2 separate regions of the Homo sapiens genome follow, and region 2 is linked to region 1. The links are contacts of gene promoters, found by promoter capture Hi-C in human tissues and cell types (Jung and others, 2019). All regions are on one chromosome and are shown on one strand. Each heading gives the region's core, a stretch centred on a gene start or on the middle of the fragment in contact. The rest is flanking DNA. Distances are from core to core; before and after follow the strand shown. Region 1 holds the start of NEK6 (NIMA related kinase 6). Region 2 overlaps DENND1A (DENN domain containing 1A).

Region 1 (3,573 bases), core at 895-3,394:
AGTCTCGCTCTGTCACTGAGGCTGGAGTGTAGTGGCGCGATCTCGGCTCACTGCAAACTTCGCCTCCCGGGTTCACGCCATTCTCCTGCCTCAGCCTCCCAAGTAGCTGGGACTACAGGCGCCTGCCACCATGCCCGGCTATTTTTTTGTATTTTTAGTAGAGACAGGGTTTCACCGTGTTATCCAGGATGGTCTCGATCTCCTGACCTTGTGATCCGCCTGCGTCGGCCTCCCAAAGTGCTGGGATTACAGGCGTGAGCCACCGCGCCCGGCCCAAACTTCTTATCCTTGAAATGGCAGATATTCAGTGTCTTCCTCCCACCCCATCCCTCCCCCTTGACTGAAGCCCCAAGAAAGGGCCATATTTTGTTCACTCCTTTATCCCAGTGCCTAGAAAAGTACCTGGCCCATGGAAGGTGCTCATAGATGTGTCGGGTGAACCAATGACTGAACTAATGTTTGCTGCATGAATATGGCCAGTATCACAAATCCTCTAGTAACACTGCAATACGCTGTCTCAGAACTTCGATTTCTTTCTATTATTTGTTGCAGTGTTTATTTCTTCTATTTAACTTTTCAATCTGTCTGACATTTATTGTGGTGTATATCATGGGAGGCAAGGCTGTAAACAGATCTCCAGCTAAACGGCTAAACAATTTGCAGAACAATCCATTTCCTCCCCATTGGTTTGTGATGTCTGCATTTTCATCCACAAGAGCTGGGACCAGGCCCGCTCCTGTGGGCCAGCTGCTGCCTCGTCTGCCCTCTTGTTCCAGAAGCCCAGGGCTATGCTGTTCCTGAGGCAGGGCTGCCTAGTGATTGGCCACACAGGCACTGGAATTAGACAATCTGCCGTGCACTTTCCAGCTCAACCACTTACCATCTGGGTGACTTTGAACAAAAGAATTTGCTTTTTATTGTTGTTGTCCAGGTTGGAGTGCAGTGGTGCGATCATAGCTCACTGCAGCTGCTAACTCCTATGCTCAAGAGACCCTCCCGCCTCAGCGTCCCGAGTAGCTGGGACTGCAGGCAGGCACTACCACACCCAGCTAATTCTTACATTTTTCTGTAGACATGGGGTTTTGCTATATTGCCCAGGCTGGCCTCAAACTCCCAGCCTCAAGGCATCCTCCCACCTCAGCCTCCCATAGTACTGGGATTACAGGTGTGAGCCACCGCACCCAGCCTGAAATTTCATTTCTAAGCCTCAAAGCCCATCTGTAAAATGGGCACAAGGGTAACGTTGGCACACGTGGTGGACGCTCCGTTGGTGTCATTATTACAGATCACGGCCAGTTGAAGCACTTCCACTCATTTGGCAAACAGAAGCCAGACGGGCATTCACCCTGTGCCCAGTACAGTGCTGCGCCCAAGCAGGCAGTCAGTGTCCCTGGCTCCAGCCCTCCTGGGGTGCAGCACAGTTTTGAATGTGGAGGGGAGGCAGCAGGGGTGGAAACAGCCCAGCCAGGAGCGGCCGCTCTCGGTGCGGGGAGGAGGTGAAGTGAGAACTGAGCTGCTTGGGTCTCAGGGAGGCTCTGACTTCTAGAGGGGGCGTTCAACATTCTTTAGTGGGGACTTTTACTACTTCCAGAAACCTCTGCACATTGGCTCTTGCTGGTCCCCCGGGGGCCACAGGAAGTGGGAGCTCCAGATGAAGAGTCGCTGGCACTTTGAGGGCAGGGGGCAGGGCCTTCCCCTCATCGGAATACTCTTGGAGCCTACTTCAGTGCCTGCATTCAGCTGGTGCACAATAAGTGCTTGTTACTGTGCCAATTTCAGTATGACTAGGGCTGTGGTAGGAGCAATGCTAGGCGATGGGGAATCCGAAGACGCACAGGAGTCCAAGGGTTGGCTGACTGCAGACCCTCATCATAAGTCTAGAGCCGGAGAAGATGGGGAGACGCCGGCCTGCGCCCTGTGAGTCTGGGCCTCAGTCTTCCCATCTCTGAAATGGGGAAGGGGTTCCTCGGCCGAGCGGATCGGCCGCAGAACTCGGCGGAGTCGAGGGGTCCAGGCCCAGGAAGGACGCCGCCGGGGCGCCCCCCGCCCCTCAAGCTTGCGTGGCGGCAGCGCGCACGAGCGCTGGGGGCGGCGCGGCCCCGCGGCGGGGAGGGGCGGGCGCGCGGGCGCGCGGGCCCGCGCAGGCGGTGGCGGCGGCGGCGGAACCGAGCTGACGGGCGTGCGGCCGCTGCGCCGCAAACTCGTGTGGGACGCACCGCTCCAGCCGCCCGCGGGCCAGCGCACCGGTCCCCCAGCGGCAGCCGAGCCCGCCCGCGCGCCGGTGAGTCGCCTGGGGCTGGGGCCGGGCCGGTGGGGCCCCGCGGCCCGGAGAAGGGCGGGGGCCGGGCGGCGGGGCCGTCACCCCCAGCCGGGCCGAGGGCGGGCGCGCGCCCACGGCTCCGCGGGGGAGAGCGGGAGGCGGGCGCGAGTGTGGCCGCGCGGGGCTGAGCGTGTCGGCGGCCGGGCGGGCGGGGGCGGCGTGTCCGCGTGTCCCGGGGTGTGCGCGTCCCCGGCGGGTGTGCGTGTGCACCCCGGAGCGTCTGGTGGCGTTGTTGGGGTGAGTGCGTGCGGGGACGCGGGCATGGCTCCCCGCTACCCACTTCCCGAGTGGGGACGACGGGCGGAGGAGTGTGCCGGGCGCCGCAGGGAGTACGTGCGGGTCTCAGGGAGTGTGTGTGTGCACGTGTGTGCATTCCAAAGTGATTTGTGTGCAAGCACATGCGTGAGCCTAGAAGGGCGAAAGTATGCCTGTGTGGGTGTGAGTATAACGAGTGTGCAGGGCCGTGCGAGCGTGTTTATTACTGAGGTTGAGGGGCCGGCCCCCTTTGCGCCCACCAGGCCTTTGCACAGTGATGGCCCCCGAGCCAGGGAGCCCGTGGAGAGAGAAGCGGCCTGGCATGGGCTGGGGGTCGGGGCTGGGCCTGATCCGGTGAACCAGGGGCCAGGAGGGCAGACTCAGAGCCTGGCTGGGCCTGACAGAGGCAAAGGTCTTAGAGCCAGGCTGCGGCAGGGCCACTGGCAGGACCCTCTCTGCATACACAGGCTGGGCGAGCGGAGGCTGTGGTGGGCCCCTCGGCCGGGCACCCGAGGACGTGTGTTTTCCTAAATATCCTCCAGGCTCTCCTGTCTTTGTTCTTGTCTCTCTCCAGCCAGGCCTGGGGGGCTGACCCTAGACTTGCCTGTGTATGTGGGGGCCTCTCTGCCTGCCCTGCTAAGTAGACGGATCTTTTGATTTATTTATACCTCTCCTAGGCTCCAAGTGTGAATCCCAGGACAGTAACAAATTGATCACAGCGGGCTTGGGACACCAGCTTCCGAGGTCTGTCCTTGCAGTTTTGACTGACAGGCTTTTGTGTGTGTGCGTGCTCTCTAACTGTTGAAAATCTTTGCAGCTGAAAGTCTTAATTGCTTTAAGGCAAACTTTAGAAATTCCAGAGCTCCCTAGTTGGTCTGACTTTTCCAAATTCAGCTTGCCTTTTTTGGGGGAAAATGTCGCCTTAGTTTGGTGTACAGTACGTGCAGGCAGGTCTTGGAGGCACGTTTAAAAACCCTGTCGTTAATGGAAGAAGAATT
Region 2 (3,947 bases), core at 1,214-3,713, 720 kb before region 1:
GTAACAGACAGAGTCCCCTGAAGACTGAGAGGGAGACAGTGTCTTGCGTAATGGCTGCATGCTCTAGCAATGTAAATACAGCGGAACTAGTCAAAAATGGGAGGAAAGAACATACCAAAAAATAGTTAAAAGGTTTTCTGTAATTATGCTCATGGTAGTATGTGTATTATTTTTGGAGATTATGAAACTAAATTAGTAATTCTGGAGTATTTTATTATTCCTTCTGCCCTTGAGAATCAGAATTTTCATATGGGAGAGAGGAAATACAAATGTAATAGAGAAGAGGTTAAGTAAAAGCTCTGTAGTCTTGAATTTTAATTGGAAGTATCAATATGAACGACAAGAGATTTACGTACATAAGCATATGTTTCCTAGCTCTGTTCAATGAAAAGGCCTAGAAACAATGGCCAACTCAGTAGCAATGAGTATCCTAAGCCAGGTTTTGGTCTTGAGATATAATTTCTCACTAAAAAGAAACCAGTGCTTCCTGAAGAAATGTCTGATTCCAGGTTTGGGGGTAGGATGTACAAGATAAGCCTGGAACCTCTTGTAATATCAGATAGCAAGAGAGCTATCAAAGACTACTAGGTTCATGTAGAAAAAAAGTACTCAGGTGTCAACCTGAAGTATTTCTCACTGACCAAAGATGGGAGGGTTTGAGTTTAATAAAATAATTATTTTAATAATTAAAAATTAAAAGTAATTAAATAAAAAATGACAATCGCAATGAACCAAAATCCATCAAATATGTTGAAATCCACCAGGCAATTATGTGTGTGAGTGTGTGTGTGTGTGTGTGTGTGTGTGTGTGTGTATGAATCCAAAGGTGACAACTCATACATATATATATATATATATATATATATATATATATATATATATATATATATGAATTCATACATATTTATGTATGTATCAATTGTCACCTTTGGAGGATGATAGGGAACCAACAATTCATTATATTAAAAAGTGGTAAATAAAGAGAAAGAGTCAAACATTTATTTTGCTTTGGCTTGTATGAACGCTAACACTGAGTAAATATTAAATGAGGGAAACTGTCTCTTTATAAAAATATTCCAACCAATAAATGAAAAACAAATTATAAGCTTAGAATATCACCATTTTTCAACTCCCAGTGAATAAACAGATATAGATATTAAACACATTGGCTACTAAGATCACTAAAACAGACAAAACAAGACCTGGTATGCCTCCTACAGTCTTGCAAAAGGGACTGAACCTCAGTCTATCCAATCTCTGGATCAACTGTCAATTAGCAGGAAATACAGGGGACAGAGGAACATGGTATGCCATCAGCAAAACTCACACAGTGGGAAATCACCACAGGCTTGAGTTCATACACAAATAAATTGTAAGTAAATGAAAGGGGTGGAGGAGGAACCTATAAGTTGAAAGAGAATTAAAAGTCATATATTTTTAAAACAGAAAAAGTCACCTATAGTTTCCAGGCATAAACATTTGGGTAATAAAACTATTTTTTTTTAATGCAAGGAAGTGATTACCATGAAATCAAGATAGTGGCATGAAATCAAGATAGTGGTTACTTATGGAGAAAAGGAAAGAGTTGGGATGAAAGGGGATTCTAGGGTGGGCAGGAAAGTTCTGTTTCTTGTTTTGGAAAGTGTTGGTCTTATAAAAATTCATGCACTTTGGGAGGCCGAGGCAGGTGGATCATGAGGTCAGGAGAGCGAGACCATCCTGGCTAACACGGTGAAACCCCATCTCCACTAAAAATACAAAAAATTAGCCGGGCACGGTGGCGGGCGCCTGTAGTCCCAGCTACTCAGGAGGCTGAGGCAGGAGAACGGCGTGAACCCGGGAGGCAGAGCTTGCAGTGAGCCGAGATCGCGCCACTGCACTCCAGCCTGGGTGAAAAAGTGAGACTCCGTCTCAAAAAAAAAAAAAAAAAAATTCATTACATCATCCACTTGATTAAGGCAGTTTTATGTTTTATTTTATAATAAATAGATTTTTAAAGGTATAGCGGTACCTACCTAGTGGGAAATACACTATAAAGATTGAATGCCAACACTTCTTTGTAAACAGTGTCAGCATGATGAGGATTATTACTGTATTTTCCACTAAAATACATACACTTTGAGAAAGAAAATCTTGTATCTACCCAACTGTTTCCTCATAGGACAAAATGTAAACTCAGCTATAAATTAAATGGTTACTGTGGTATATTTTAAAAACTAATATTAAGCTCTTACGAAGAGCCAGGTACCATGCTGTATTATCTAACTTAATCTTCACACCAATCCTGTGAGGCAGATTACATTTATTCTTCCCATTTTACAGATGACAAAACTGAAGCTAAGGAGTTAAGTAGCATGCCCAAAATTACAGAAATAGAAAAGTGGTACTTGGAACCCAGGTCTGGCTGACTCCTGTTAAGTAGGTTCCATCTCTTTTCTTCAGTGCCTGCCACTGGGCCTGGTACAGAGGAGGTGGCAGCATTTTTAAAAATAGAATTAGACTGTCTTGGTGAGTCCTAAAGATCAGGAAACAGGTATTAAGATGACATAAGCCACTCCCTGGAGCATCACTTTTTGGAAGAAGAGAAAAAAGAAGTGATGAGTTCCTTTGAGCCCAGCAGTCACAGAGACCCTCCTTTAGGACAGACTGGTCTCCTCAGCACTAGGGCTCGAGTCCAAGCTGGCAAGATGCTTTCTGCATCAAGACTAAATGTGTCTGTGAAACCAGAGAGACGAAAGAAACAGCTACATGCTGCTGACAGCAGGGAGTACGGCAAAAATGTTTTCTGTACCCCAGGAATGCAAAGTCACCACCCTGACACATTGAATTATCAGCTTTAGACTAAGAAGCAAGATGCTAGAGGAGTTCATGTTTCCTCCCTAGATGCTGGAAACCATCACCAAAGAGGATCGGAAGCAGCATGGGACCAGTGGAAAAACCGTGAGTTCTAGAGGCAGACAGACCTGGCTCTAGTCCGACTCTTTCTTCTTGGCACCTACCTCACCTCACCCAGGAGCTTTCTCTATCTTCTTCCTTAGCTTTCTTTTTCTGCATAACACTTATTACCATCAGACATATTATATGTTGATTTTCATCTTTGTTTACTCTCTGTGTCTTCCTAAGGTAGAAGAGATTTGAGGACTAGGACTTCATTTTGTTCACTGCTGCAATTCCAAGCATCTAGAATAGTCCCCTGGTTTAGTAGGGTCTTGGTAAATGTTTGAGCAAAGTTGTTGCATTAAGTAATTTCAATTCTCTCTGCTTTATGTTTCTTATTTAGCAAGTTGGGGATAATACTGTGTACATTTAACCAAGAAAATATACATAAAGGGCAAGAAGTAGGAGTTCAGTGAGTACCAGGTTTTTCCTACCCCTACTTCTTTTGCATAAACACTTATCAACCCAGGATAAAACTAATCAACCCGGGATAAAAGTTTCCCTTCAGAGAACAGATAATGACCTTTTAAGCTGGCAGCTGACTTGCTCAAGACAACCTCAAAACCTCCAGACCATTTTATTGTGAAGACGAGAGTGAACATTCCTCGCAGTAGGAATATGAGCAAAGAAAAGTCCCAAGCAACTAGCTTATGAATAATGCCAGTGAGCTGTGACTGATGGAAACAGGGTTGAGTGGAGACCTGCCAGGTCACATCACTAACAGGGACCAGCAAGCCAAACATAAATAATCTCCAGTTAAAGGGTTTCCAAAAATCCTGCCACGCCTCCATGGAATGTGACTGCTGGTGAATTGGGCATTCACTGGATAAAAAGTTTGCTGTGGAGGGCAGGAAAGATGCACAGAGGACGAGTACTTCCCATCTGCCATCGCATTTAATTCTGAAAACAATTTTACGAGGGTGGCATTTTTATCCCCACTTAACAAATGAAAAACCTGCGGTTCAGGGAGGAGGGAGGGCTTCCCAAAGTTTCATAGCTCTGAAAAAGTA

What was found. Contacts are between HindIII fragments. The study calls those that stand out against the background at their distance.
Region 2: a fragment that was not itself captured here is called in contact with the fragment with the promoter of NEK6 in region 1 in 1 of the 25 tissues and cell types used here (dorsolateral prefrontal cortex).

The regions. Positions count from the first base shown.
Region 1 is chr9:124,255,805-124,259,377 of GRCh38, forward strand. NEK6 (NIMA related kinase 6) reads left to right here and starts at 2,145. Exons shown (of 10, transcript NM_014397.6): 1 at 2,145-2,281. LOC613206 (a long non-coding RNA gene) reads right to left here. Exons shown (of 2, transcript NR_149024.1): 2 at 3,406-3,573. RefSeq lists silencers at 2,165-2,294, 2,355-2,724 and an enhancer at 2,762-3,573. The HindIII fragment of the contact is 13,117 bases long and covers 1-3,573 here.
Region 2 is chr9:123,537,970-123,541,916 of GRCh38, forward strand. The region is part of intron 13 of DENND1A (DENN domain containing 1A); the gene reads right to left. Among named protein-coding and RNA genes, the nearest start is that of MIR7150, 54 kb to the left of the region's middle. The HindIII fragment of the contact is 4,894 bases long and covers 17-3,947 here.